3 separate regions of the Homo sapiens genome follow, and all the other regions are linked to region 2. Evidence: promoter capture Hi-C in human tissues and cell types (Jung and others, 2019). All regions are on one chromosome and are shown on one strand. The core of a region is centred on a gene start or on the middle of the fragment in contact, and the rest is flanking DNA. Distances in the headings are between cores, read along the strand shown. Region 1 has its middle 20 kb from the start of ZFAND6. Region 2 holds the start of MTHFS (methenyltetrahydrofolate synthetase). Region 3 overlaps ZFAND6 (zinc finger AN1-type containing 6).

Region 1 (4,828 bases), core at 863-3,362, 140 kb after region 2:
ACAAGCGTGAAACAAAATTACTTTCCATGTGAAACAGGCTACCCTACTTTGGCTGCCAAATGAAAATGCGAAAAGGTTCAAAAATACAGTTTCTTGATGGATTGAAGATTGTGGAAACGGTGAGAAGGAAATGAGGCGGCCACTAGGGAAGCCCAGAGGAGATGTGGTGAGGCACCTAACATCCCCCTCTTCTACAAACCTTCAACCCCAGCTGGGATGCACAGTAAGAAAATTCAAGCTTCTTGGCCCGGCACGGTGGCTCACGCCTGTAATCCGAACACTTTGGGAGGCTGAGGCAGGCGGAGTACCTGAGCTCAGGAGTTTGAGACCAGCCTGGGCAACACGGTGAAAACCCGTCTCTACTAAAATACAAAAAAAAAAATTAGCTGGATGTGGCAGCGTGCACCTGTAGTCCCAGCTACTCGGGTGGCTGAGGCAGTAGAACTGCTTGAACCCAGGAGGCAGAGGTTGCAGTGAGCCGAGATCGCGCCACTGCACTCCAGCCTGGGCAACAGAGCGAGACTCTGTCTCCAAAAAAAAAAAAAAGAAAATTAAAGCTTCTTTTAGGCCTCCCGTCATTGCAGCAACTGCACTGTCAAAGGTACAGCATCATCATCTGACCCAACAACCTCCAGGTAAGATATAGCAAGGATCCTCAGCCTGGGACTTGGCTCCATCCAATGCTTTGGAAGGGGAATCTGGCTTGACATTACAGGTCTCCTGCAGGCTCCCTCATCACTCTCCGATGATGGGTCTCCTTCCTCAAAGCTCCAGGTCATTGCTGACATTGGTTGACCCTGCTGCCTAGAGCAAACTATGGCCCATGGGCCAAACCAACCATTTTGTAAATAATGTTTTACAATAATGTATCTACAAAATAGCACCTATTTTGTAAATCACGTTTCAATAGAATACAGTCATGCTCATTTATTTATATCAGACCTCCCTCCCCCCAGTTACATTTTGGGTTGTGACAACTGAGGAGTGCTACTGGTATCAACTGGGTAGAGACTAGGATGCTGCTAAATATCCTACAGTTCACAGGACAGCCTTCATAACAAACAATGATCCAGCCTCAAATGTCAGCAGGCCAAGGTGGACAATACCTTGTGTATTGTTTATGGCTGCTTCTGAGCTAAAATGGGAGAGTCGAGTAGATGTGACAGAGATCACATGACCTGCAGAGCCTAAAACATGTTCTATTTGGATTTTGTACTAGTCAGGGTTTTCCATAGAAACAGAACCAATAGGATAGAGAGAAAGGAAGAAAAAAAGAGAGAGAGATTTAAGGAACTGGCTCATGTGATTATGGAGGCTGGCAAGTCCAAAGTCTGCAGGGTGGACTGGCAGGCTGAAGACCTGGGAAGAGCCAAGGTTGCAGTTTGAGTCTGAAGGCTGTCTGCTGCAGGATGCCTTCTTCCTCAGGGGAGGTCAGTCTTTGTACCATTCAGTCCTTTGACTGATTGGATGAGGCCTACCAACATTGTGGAGGGCAACCAACTTTACTCAAAATCCACTGATTTCAATGTTAATCTCATCCAAATGTACTCTCACAGAAACATCCAGAATAATGTCTGACCAAATATCTGGGTACTGTGGTCCAGCCAAATTGACACATAAAATTAACCATCAAAGCCAGGCGCCGTGGCTCACACCTGTAATCCCAGCACTTTGGGAGGCCAAGGTGGATGGACTGCGAGGTCAGGAGTTCAAGACCAGCCTGGCCAATATGGTGAAACCCTGTCTCTACTAAAAATACAAAAATTAGCTGGGCGTGATGGTGCGCGCCTGTAATCCCAGCTACTTGGGAGGCTGAGGCAGAAGAATCACTTGAATCCAGAAGGTGGAGGTTGCGGTGAGCTGAGATTGCATCACTGCACTCCAGCCGCGACAGAGCAAGACTCTGTCTCAAAAAAAAAAAAAAAAAAAATTAACCATCAAAGGCTTTTACAGAAAAAGTTTGTAGAACCCTCGGAGTCCCACCTCACCAGAGCTGAAGACTTGTTGGATTAACCTCATGAGAGGATTTTAGGTGGGCGTGACTTTGGATGTCAAGGAGAATGGAGAGTAAGCTGTGATCAGAACGCTGTGGTCATGCCTCCATGGCTCTAGCTGACTCCCCCAAGGGCAAAGTCCACCCTGACCCTCCCCTATGGACACAGTCCTTAGTTTACAATGTAATTTCACATTTTTTTTTTATTTGAAACGACCCTTTAAGGTAGAGTCCGGGGAGATGATACTGTTTCACTGATAAGCAAACTGAGGCCCAGAGAGGTGAGGTAATACCACACAGGGAGTTCGGGTGAGAATGGTGATCTCCTGGTTCCCAGTTTGGTGTTCTTGGGAATCACAATTCACTCTAGGGTGACCAACTGTTCTGTGTTGCTGTTGTTGTTGTTGTTGTTGTTTGAGATGGAGTCTTGCTTTGTCACCCAGGCTGTAGTGCAGTGGCACGATCTTGGCTCACTGAAACCTCCGCCTCCTGGGTTCAAGAGATTCTCCTGCCTCAGCTTCCCGAGTAGCTGGGACGACAGGCATTTACTACCACGCCCGGCTAATTTTTGTATTTTTAATAGAGACGGGGTTTCACCATGTTGGCCAGGCCAGTCTCGAACTCCCCACCTCCCGACCTCAGGTGATCCACCCACCTTGACCTCCCAAAGTACTGGGATTGCAGGGGTGAGCCACCGTGCCTGGTCCTGTTCTGGTTTTTATAGGCCCAAGAGATTTCCTGGAATGCAGGATTTTAGGTGCTAAAACTGGGGAAATCTGAGGCAAACTGGGACAAACTGATCACCCCACTTTGCCACCTCATGGATGTCTGACCTCAGTTACCCTAGCACTAAGTAGAATTAGCCAGCCAGGAGCTCAAGGCCCTGGGGAGACCCCTCAGTTAGGTGTGATGTGAGCAGACTGCCAGCACGGGCACCAACCGGTGTGTGTCCCTTTTCTCCAAACTCGAGAACAGAAATGTGATGGCAGCTTGAAGGGGGCTGGAAGGAGCTCTAGAACCCAGAGGTGAGACCTGCCTCAGCCTGCACCCCCTTTAGCAGCCAATGCCCCTGCTTGCCCCTAAGTTTCTCCATCTCTAAAATGATGATCTTTGGGTGCACCTAATAAATATTTACATTTTTACATTATACTTTCTTCTAGCACCGGAACTAATATTCATTCATTATCATAGACTTGGGGGGAATAAAAAGAGGAAAAAAAAAAGTTTTAACATCTAAATTTCCACTAATTCTAGTTTTTCCTAGATTTTTTTTCCATGTACAAAATTTATGCTTACTTTCACTCACTAGTGATTATACTATACAATTTTATTAGGTTTTTCCTTTTTTTATAACCTTTTCGTTTTTAAAAAAATTCTTACTAGATTATAAAATTGGTGAAAATATGAAAAACACATGAATAAAAAAGCCAATAGTAATCATCACCTATAATGCCACATATGTAAATATATATATACATATATAAATATATACACGTGTATATATAAATATAAACATCTATTTTCCTAGGCATATATGTGTTTACATTTATACGTGTATGTGTGTATATATTTAAATATGTATATATATTTACAAATAGGAGATAGTTATAGATATTTTAAAATACACATATATATACACAATACATGTGTTTATATAAACACATACTTTATGTATCTGTTTATAATTTATTTTTATTATAAAATTAATATATTTTCATTAGAAAAAATTCAAACACTCATAAATAAGCTTTCTCTTAGCCTCAAAACCATCCCTCAGAGATAATAACCCCTATTTTCAATTTGGTATCTATCTTTACAGGCATTTATTTCATTTGTAGGTATACATGTGTCTACATTTTTAACACAGATAGGATCTTAACATAGTACTGTTCTGTGACTTGCCTTTTCACTTAAAATATTATTGGCATATTCATAGAATGTTCTCTCCTGCTTTATTCACTTAACTTTCAAAGATAACTTCTAGACTTTTTATAAACTGAAGTATTTTACTGAATGGCTATAGTTGTTAAACCTCACTTTGGCACTTCTTTGTTATTTCTGATTTTAACTTATTTTTTAAATTACACAAGTAGTATGTAGATACATTCACATTAAAAAAAATTCAAACTATAAGGAAGAGGCCAGGCGCAGTGGCTCACACCTGTAATCCCAGCACTTTGGGAGGCTTAGGTGCCTCGATCACCTGAGCCCAGGAGTTTGAGACCAGTCTGGGCAACATGGCGAAACTCCATCTCTACTAAAAATACAAAAAAACTAGCAGGGTATTGTAGTATGCACCTGTACTCCCAGCTATTCTGAAGGCTGAAGTGGGAGAATTGCCTGAGCCCAGGAGGCAGAGATTGCAGTGAGCTGAGATCCCACCACTGTACTACAGCCCAGGGGATAGAGCCAGACCCTCTCTCAAACAAACAAACGAATTCAAACTATAAGGAAGAAAAGAGAGCAGTTTGCCTTCCTCTTTTCCCCACCCATATTCCTGTCCAGCAATAGCCACTGTAACAGTCTCTCTTCTATGCATTTACATATATGAACATATTTATCTACTGGATTCACACAGTACCTATTGTTCTGCAACCTGCCTTTTACATACACGTAGAAATCTACAGAGCCTTCACCGGCCTATTCAATGCCTTTACTGGATTTAGAAAAAGGCACTCCTTTATCAAATAAGTATTTTTTAAGTTAGCACAATCTGATTAGCTCTGCCAAGGGTGCTTTCCAGAGTGTGGCCTGGCTCTGGCATGGCCTGGCTGTGCACCACACTCTCATCCACTTATACTCTGAACTCCCTGAATGCCAGTGTGCTTGAGCCTC
Region 2 (4,554 bases), core at 1,903-4,402:
TTTCTTTACCATTTAAATTACTTCTCTGATAAATTTCTAAGTTATAAAAAGGTACAGTGCCAATAAGAATAAATACGCTTTTCTAAATGAAAGACATCATTTAACACCTTTATTGAGCATTCACTATGGCAAAACACTACACAGTACACTGATGTTTCCAGTGATGATCCATTGGTTAGTCATGAAATCAATAGTGGGCTACAATTTTTAAATGAAATAGAATAGAAAATATTAAAGTTCGAGCCAGGCACAGTGGCTCACGCCTGTAATCCCAGCACTTTGGGAGGCAGAGGCGGGAAGATCACGAGGTCGAGTTCGAGACCACCCTGGCCAACATGGTGAAACCCCGTCTCTACTAAAAATAGAAAAATTAGCTGAGCATGGCGGCACGTGCCTGTAATCCCAGCTACTTGGGAGGCTGAGGCAGGAGAATCGCTTGAACGTGGGAGGCAGAGGTTGCAGTGAGCCGAGATCATGCCACCGCACTCCAGCCTGGGCGACAGAGCAAGACTCTGTCTTGAAAAAAAAAGAAAATATTAAATTTCATTGTATGTGCTTAAGAGCTGTAAAATGTTCCTTGTATGTGTATATTTGTTTGTACAGAGTAAAATGTATTTATTACTGAGGGTCATGGGTCTGCTTTTTAATTTTTCTCTCTCCTCCTTTAATGCCAGCTCTCAGTCGTCATTCTATTGCTGTCAGTGACTCTGTATCTATGTAAACTATTTCCATCTATAGTTTATGAATTCTAATCTTCTACGGAGAAAGACAACGTAGAAGATTAGAAACTGAATTCATCTTTATTTTCCCCATGCCCCTCCAAAATTTGTTCCAATTCCTACCTTCTTTATGCCTAAGGCTAAACACCATTATACCAAGCTCTAAATTTTGGAATCACTGGTGACTCTCCTCCCCTTCCAGTATTCTCTAACCTCTTCCAATCAGTTGCCAAGTCCTGCTGTTTCTCACTTAACAGTCTCCCATTTGCCTCCTTTCCCCTCATCTTCACTGCCCATGCTCTGGTTTGCATATTTTTCATCTTTCACTTGAATTGGCACAACAGCCCCTTACTGGTCTCCATATTTTTTTTCTTTCTTCCTTCCTCAACCCATTATCCAAATGCTGCCATTATACTCTTCCTAAAGGACATAACAAACAATAGGTAAAGCTCTGAATACATCCCTTTACACACTTCTTTAACTCTCACAATCGACCTACAAGAGTGATATTATCCATTTTATAGACAAGGAACCAAAGGTTCTGAGAGATTATGAGACCTGTCCAAGGATATACAGTTAAAAAACAATGGCGCCAGATTCAGCCCAGATCTGTGCAGTTCCAAAGCCCATGCTAAACTGTATCCTGTCATCTCTTGCCTAAATATCCCTACTCACACTCCCCTATCCCATCTTTCCCTTCACCTGAAAGAATTCATCTTGTTCTCCGAAATTCATCTCAAACATTTTCCAATAGAAAGCTTTCCAATTTCCCCTCCCCAAGGCTATGTTTCCACAACATTGGTGTTTACCTTTATCATATATCTGGCTTCAATGCAATTCTTTATTCATGTCTGTTTCCTCTTCTAGGCTCTCTGCTCCTTTAGAGCAACAATCATATCTTTTTCATCTCCACAACCCAGTATATAGCCAAGTGTGCACTACATAGGTGTTCAACATATGTGAATGAATTAGCTAAATTTTAAACAACTAGATAGTAAGGACAAGAGTCTATATCCTTTACATCTACTAAAACACCCAGCAATGCTTCCTCATAATAGCTAAAATAATTCTGTTTGAACGAACGAATTAACATCTGTATAGATTCCCTCATACACACCTACATAGATGAAGAGAGGGGTGAAATGAGCATATATGCTTTACTGCTTTAACCCATAGGCACCTTGAATTTGAGTAAATAACGGATAATAGAATAGTGAAGGGTAATTAAGAAAGCCTGATGGTATAACTAATTCCAAGGAACATCAAGTTTCCAAATATCTGGTGTCTCTGAAGCATGATGCTGGGAAGACAGATCATCAGTTTGACTTACAACAGAATTACAAATACGTACTTATTCAGGGGACATTAAATTTTTCTTCCTCTGGTGTCTAACAAAAATGAGTCCCCAAAAACTCTTTAGAACATGCCTTCACAACAGGATATGACTGCCATTTTATTGATAAGAAAACTGACATTACATAGACTAAAAATACATAGCAGTGCAGTTGGTGAAAGTAATGAAACAGAGGTCTGCTAACCAACAAACACGGACCCTCACTTATTCCTCTCATTTCTCTCTTCTGTTTCCTACGTTCTTGGGAAGCCTGGATATGATAGCCAAGTCTTCCTTTCGTTCACTCAAGAAAAAGCATTTAATGTTGACCAACTCTGAGACAGGAAAAGCCTAGGCCCTGGAGCTACTGAGACACAGCCTTAGCCCTCCATATGCTTAGTGAAGTCCAGTCAACCTCTGAGTTCTGCCCTTTGGCATCTCCACACCTTTTTTGGTGTTCCCTCGTCTAAAGCACCTGCATCTTTCTCTGGCCATTTTACTAATATAACCGGAGTCTTACTCGTAGCTCATTAACTTTAGGCCTCACTGAGGGAACCTGGGCACTCAGGTGTTCACCCATCTCCTCTACCACAACTTTCTGTTCTCACCGTGCTCTCACCACAGCACCGTCATCCCCACGGAGGGTTTTCGAGCACCAAAAGAGCCACCCATGCAAACAAACTCCCCTCCCAGAGATAAATCTGTCAACCCCTGCCGTCCTCTCGCTCTTTAGCCCCACAACTTTCACTACCGGGCCCTCTCCCCGCCATAGTGCCAAGAGCGTCCAGACCACGACTAGGGGGCGTGCGCGCGCCGGGAGGGGAAACGTGCGCGCGCCGGGGGGTGGGGGGGCGCCTAGCCCAGCGCCAGCACGGACCATGCACAGATCAGCAATCGCTGGCCGCCAGGCCTTCGGAGGGTCTGTCCGCCGCGGCTTCCGCTACGGGCGGCCTCGCACCTTCTGGCTCAGTACGCGGGACTGGCGTAGCCGCTCCTCGGCACTCATCGCCCGCAGACGCTGCTTCAGCTCTCCCCGCAGGCTCCGCTTGGCGCTGCTCACCGCTGCCGCCGCCATCTCACGCCCAAGCCGAGTCCAGTCCCGCCCTCGGCGCCCTGGGCGCCCTCGGGTTCGGTCTCCGCCCCTGGCCGCTCCCAGGTGGATCCGCGGCCTAGGGGCGGGTCGGGGCTCGGGGAAGCGCCCCCACCCCGCTTCCGGGACGCGGGCCCGCGGCGCGCCGCGCGCTTACCTCGCCTCTGGCCCTTGGGACCCAGCCCTCGTGCGGTCCCCGTGGTCCGGCTCGCCCTCCCCGGTTAGGGGAGCGGTGGCGAGGCGCCGTCGCTGCCCTGCCGCCTGACCTCCCTGAGCCTGGGCCCTCACCGGGACCGCGGAGGCGGCAGCGCCACTGGCGGGGATGGTAAAGATGGCCGGCAGTACCCACGGTGCCTGGCATCTCTTGTACTGTTCAGTAGTGGGACTTCAGGGGCCAGAAAAGAAGGGCAAGGCAGGACATGTAGCGAAATCGTCACGAGTCGCTTAACTACAGGGATAGGTCTGACAGATGCCCCGATTTCCTTCTTGTGCAAACATCAGAGTGTAGTTACACAAAGTTACTACACACCTATGCTACACACCTGTACAGCGTATTTTGTACCGAATACTGTAGGCAATTGTAAGCACCGTGATACTTGTGTATCTAAACACAGAAAAGGTAATGTGTTGGTTGGCTACCACATCAGTAGGTATTAGGAATTTTTCAGCTCCATTATAATCTTAAGGGACCACAGTGGTTGATGGAAATGTCCTTATGTGATGAATGTATAGATGATACATAATCGGGAACACTGCTAAAGCAATAACTGTAGTGTAAAAGCCAAATTTTGCGGGTTTCTAGTGTGAATGTATTCCAGGTAATAGTGCCCACATAGGTACTTCCTGTTATAACCATCAGTGACTGTTCATTCCCACCACTCAGCTCTGATTAAAACACAAAAATGAATTAAAACTAAAAGCAGTTGGGGGGTGGGTGAGGCACTTGCAGGAAGAGGTAAAAGAAACTGTTAAGTCTTAAACTGCTCCCAGTAGACAGGCGCCTCAGATGGCATAGACGGTTGCCTCTCAGATGTGACTTCCTAAGAAAACCAGAGCTGTCTCTGCCAAAAATACGTCCCTACTGACCGCCCCAGTGTCTTAATCCCCACCGTTAAGAATCACACCTCCTAGGTAAAGCATTAATTAAGTGCCCGGTGAGAATGCACATGGCTTGAGAGGGGAGTTCTGGCTTCTTTATGGAATCTATCAACAGCTTCCAGGGAAAGCTAATGCAAGTCCCAGGGGGACTGTGTTGTAAGAAAAAGGGAAGGCCAGGCAGGTACAGCGTATACATAGTGCAATTAGATTTGCTGACCTAAAAGTTAGAACACGAGGTCTAACAAACTACGTACTTTTCTAATCTGTTCATTTTTACCAAAAAATAAAAATTAAAATTAACACTAGCTCCACGT
Region 3 (4,898 bases), core at 843-3,342, 180 kb after region 2:
TGCTTGTTGAATTCTGGATATTAGACCTTTGTCAGAGGTGCAGTTTGTGAGTATTTTCTCCTATTCTGTAGATTATCTGTTTACTCTGTTCTTTCTTTCCTTTTTTTTTGGAGACGGAGTCTCGCTCTGTCGCCCAGGCTGGAGTGCAGTGGCGCGATCTCGGCTCACTGCAAGCTCCGCCTCCTGGGTTCACGCCATTCTCCTGCCTCAGCCTCCCAAGTAGCTGGGACCACAGGCACCCGCCACCACGCTTGGCTAATTTTTTGGATTTTTAGTAGAGACGGGGTTTCACCGTGTTAGCCAGGATGGTCTCGATCTCCTGACCTCATGATCCGCCCACCTCGGCCTCCCAAAGTGCTGGGATTACAGGCGTGAGCCACCGCACCCGGCCTACTCTGTTCTTTCTTTTGCTGTTCTTTTGGTATACATTAAATAATAAAAATGTAAAATAATGACAATAGATTTTGAATGTTATAATAGATTTATGTGATATATAATTTGAAAAGAATGTTTTCCTTAGCTTTTTTTTTTTTTTTTTTGAAATGGAGTCTCGCTGTGTCGCCCAGGCTGGAGTGCAGTGGCGCAAACTTGGCTCACTGCAAGCTCTGCCTCCCAGGTTCATGCCATCCTCCTGCCTTAGCCTCCCCGAGTAGCTGGGACTACAGGCGCCCGCCACCACGCCCAGCTAGCTAATTTTTTGTATTTTTAGTAGAGTCGGGGTTTCACCGTAGCCAGGATGGTCTCGATCTCCTGACCTTGTGATCCACCTGCCTCGGCCTCCCAAAATGCTGGATTACAGGCATGAGCCACCACGCCTGGCCCTTAGCTTTGAGAAACAGAATACACAACCGTTTTTCTGTTTTTTTTCCCTTTCTTTTTTTTTTCTTTGAGATAGAGTCTTGCTCACCCACCCAGGCTGGAGTGCAGTGGTGCAATCTCCAGTCACTGCAACCACCATCTCCAGGGTTCAAGCAGTTCTCCCGTCTCAGCCTCCGAGTAGCTGGGATTACAGGCACCCACCATCATGACCAGCTAATTTTTGTATTTTAGTAGCTACGGGGTTTCACCATGTTGGCCAGGCTGGTCTTGAATTCCTGACCTCGGGTGATCCACCCACTTCGGCCTCCCAAAGGGCTAGGGTTACAGGCATGAGCCACTGCACCCGGCCTACACAACCAGTTTTCTTAAATTTTGTAGATAATTGTTTAAAATTATATATACAGTAGTTGCCCCTTATTCATGGGAGATATGTTTGAAGACCCACTGTGGATAGTACCAAACCTATATTTGCTGTGTTTTGTCCTATACATAAATACCTATGACATAGTTTTATAAATTAGACATAGTAAGACATTAACAATAATAGAATAATTATACTGTAATAAAAGTTATGTGATATCATCTCCCTCCCTCTTTCTCTCAAAATATCTTAGTATCTTCAGGCTGTGGTTGATCTCAGGTAACTGAAACAGCCGACAATGAAATCTTGGATGTGTTAGGTCATTCTTGCATTACTATACAGAAATACGTGAGACTGAGTATAAAAAGAGGTTTAATTGGCTCATGGTTCTTCAGGCTGTGCAGGAGACATGGCACCAGAGATCTGCTCAGCTTGTGATCATGCCTCAGGAAGCTTACAATCACTGCGGAAGCAAAGAGGGAGCTGGTGCATCACATGACAAAAGCCAGGAGCTAAAGAGAGTGGGGTGCGGAGAGGTACCACACACTTTTAAGCAGCCAGATCTTGTGAAAACTATCTCAAGGACAGCACCAAGGGGATGGTGTTAAGCTATTCATGAGAACTCCTCCATCCCCATCATCCAGTCACCTCCCATCAGGCCCCACCTCCGATACTGGGGATTACAGTTCACCATGAGATTTGAGTGGGGACAAATACACAAACTTTATCAGTTGATAAGGGTGGACTACTGTAAGGTTATCTTTTCTCTGAATGAATACTAAGTCTCAGTAGCTGTAGGAATTTAAAAAATACATTTACTTTTTGTAGAAAAAATTTATTCTTTGCAGACTTTCAAATGAAAACCTACACTGAAAAGGTGACATTGATTGCCTAAAATAATTGTTTCAGTAACAAATTTTTATTGAGTTGTGTGCATACAGCCTAGTCAGATAGTCAGACTAGTTACACAGTCAGATGAGCTTGTAAAGTACTGTAAAATGGTCCTTTTCTGGAGGAAACTCACATACTGTTTGATAAAAGTAGGGGATATGAGTATTTCCTATCTGATAAGTCAGTGTTAAAGACTTTAGACAAATTTAATGGAATTTAATTGAGCAAAAAGCGATTCAAGAACCAAGCAGCTCCCAGAACCAGAACAGTTCAGGAGGACTGCAGAGTACCGTATTGTCAAATAACATATTGTCAGATAACATTTATGGTCAAGAAAAGGGAAGTGACATGCATACAGCAAAGGGAAGTGAGGTACAGTAACAGCTAGATTAGTTACAGCTCAGCCTTTGCCTCATCTGAACACAATTTGAACAGTTGGCCACCTATGATTGGCTGAAACTCAGCTACTGTGATTGGCTGAGACTTGGCTACTTATTACAAGAGTAGGTTACAGTCTGCTTACATATCAAGTTAACTTTATAGTGCACTATGTAGAGAGAAACTTTGGGCCAAACCTAAAATATGGATGGAGGCAGCCTCGGGCCAGACTTAATTTAGTTTAATGTCAGGATCATATATTACTGAGTGCAAACTTGTGTTTGTTATAGATGATTGCTGTAGAAGTTCAAGTGGGAAGAAAGATAAGCCAAGATAATAAGAAAATTAGAAAAAGTAAAATCTGAGACATTCCTTGAAGATTTGTTAGATAGGTTTGAGACTGGATGTACACTAAAAGCTTTATTTACCCGGAAAGAGGCAATCCTGGAATGGCAAAATGGAGGGAGTAATAGATTCTGGATATGCCAACCAAAATTTTGCTGGTTTAGCAGGTGCCATTTAATTTCTCATTTTTCCAGTAAGCCCAGGTGGGGAAGAGGTATGGAGTATACATAGGATATGGGAATGGTGTGACTGTGAGCAGTGGTGAATTATGAAGGCTTCTATGCAAATAAGTGGTAAAAACAGGGTTTGGAATATTAATTTAATTGCAACTCATATTGGACACTATCAGACACATTAACTTTAAGTTCTCACAATATCATGAGATGGGTATTATTGTTGTGCCTATTTCGCAGATGATAATGCTAAGTTTATAGAGAGATAGGAAAAATTGACAAAGGTTAAACAGGTTTATAGACAGATAGGACAAATTGACAAAGGTTATGTGGCAGAGCCTAGATTGAAATTGGGAAGGCTGATACCAGAGCATGATCTTGCTATTCAGGTTTACTTAGAGAGGGAAGGTTTACTTAGGGAGAGGAATTCAAGGCAGGGAGACTACCAGTTGTTGTTTTTGAAGTTCTGTGGTAATGTGAGTAATTTTACTAATGTTCCTAAACCTTTGGGTTTGGTATCTCAATATCACTGTCAAGTGACTTTCTGGGAAAGGTAGGAAAGATTGACAGATGGATATAGCAGGGATTATTCATTCTTATTTTAGTGAGTGTCAAAGGATGGAAACTGGTAAGAGTTCCAGATATTTAAGGAGTTTATTATGAGGATTGGACCATGCTTCCCTCCTTGTTTTGCTGAGTTTATATCTTCTGGTTCTTTGATTTCCTATGAACTAAAAATCAGAATTCCATCTTAGAAATTTATTATTCAATTGAACTGCCCTCACCTCCCTTAATTTTCTTTTATAAAGTTTTCTCTGAGGTGGATATGGGATAGAAAAAATGATGGTGGACTGAGCACCTACTATGTATCCTATACATATATACATATGTTATTTTATTTATTTATTTATTTTGAAATGGAGTCTCACTCTGTCGCCCAGGCTGGAGTGCAGTGGCGCGATCTTGGCTCACTGCAAGCTCCGCCTCCTGGGTTCACGCCATTCTCCTGCCTCAGCCTCCCGAGTAGCTGGGACTACAGGCACCTGCCACCACGCCTGGCTAATTTTTGTATTTTTTAGTAGAGACGGGGTTTCACCGTGTTAGCTGGGATGGTCTCAATCTCCTGACCTCGTGATCCGCCCGCTTCGGCCTCCCAAAGTGCTGGGATTACAAGCATGAGCCACCGCACCTGGCCTATACATACGTTATTTTAAACCTCCCAGCCCTGTGAATTGGTGGTGGTATTATCCATAATAATAAATTCTGCACAGGTTTCTTAAGCAACTACTGGGTGCTATGCTAAGAACTTATGATATGTTGGGGAAACATGCAGAGAATTTATATTAAATGATAATGAGGGAGAAAAGAGACCAGATTATCATTGGAGCAGAGTCAGAGAAGACTGTAAAGTGGCTGTGCTAAGACTTAGAAAATAAATAAAAGTTAACCAGAGTGAGTGAAAGGGATGTTAGGTAAGCCTTGTAACTTTAGAGAAAAGCGTGTTCATGGAGATGATTAAGCATGGAAGTTAGGCTGGGCACAGTGGCTCATGCCTGTAATCCCAGCACTTCAGGAAGCCAATGTCAGGAGTTTGAGACTAGCCTGGCCAACGTGGTGAAACCGTGTATCTACTAAAAATATAAAAATCAGCTGGGCATGGTGGTGAGCATCTGTAATCCCAGCTACTCAGGAGGCTGAGGAGGTTGCGGTGAGCTCAGATCATGCCATTGCACTCCAGCCTGGGCAACAGAGCGAAATTCCTTCTCAAAAGCATGGAAGTTGAGAGCTTTAGGGCCCAGGAGGAAAAATGGCAGGAGAATGAGGCTTCATAGACAAGATGAGCTAAACCTATTCTCTTAGTGATGGAAAACCTTTGAATTACTGATTTGGGGCGTGGTCTGATCACCCTGAGAGGATTTAAATATCCTCTT

What was found. Contacts are between HindIII fragments. The study calls those that stand out against the background at their distance.
Region 1: a contact is called between a fragment that was not itself captured here and the fragment with the promoter of MTHFS in region 2, in 3 of the 25 tissues and cell types used here (IMR-90 fibroblasts, lymphoblastoid cells and spleen).
Region 3: a contact is called between a fragment that was not itself captured here and the fragment with the promoter of MTHFS in region 2, in 1 of the 25 tissues and cell types used here (lymphoblastoid cells).

The regions. Positions count from the first base shown.
Region 1 is chr15:80,036,912-80,041,739 of GRCh38, forward strand. No RefSeq gene overlaps it. Among named protein-coding and RNA genes, the nearest start is that of ZFAND6, 20 kb to the right of the region's middle. RefSeq lists an enhancer at 2,798-3,297. The HindIII fragment of the contact is 5,767 bases long and covers 1-4,828 here.
Region 2 is chr15:79,893,862-79,898,415 of GRCh38, forward strand. It overlaps MTHFS (methenyltetrahydrofolate synthetase), which reads right to left and starts at 3,153. Exons shown (of 3, transcript NM_006441.4): 1 at 3,011-3,153. The coding sequence starts at 3,127. The region is part of intron 2 of ST20-MTHFS (ST20-MTHFS readthrough); the gene reads right to left. RefSeq lists a silencer at 3,162-3,461 and an enhancer at 3,602-3,651. The HindIII fragment of the contact is 7,261 bases long and covers 78-4,554 here.
Region 3 is chr15:80,079,129-80,084,026 of GRCh38, forward strand. All of the region lies in intron 1 of ZFAND6 (zinc finger AN1-type containing 6), which reads left to right. Among named protein-coding and RNA genes, the nearest start is that of ZFAND6, 22 kb to the left of the region's middle. The HindIII fragment of the contact is 4,595 bases long and covers 1-4,390 here.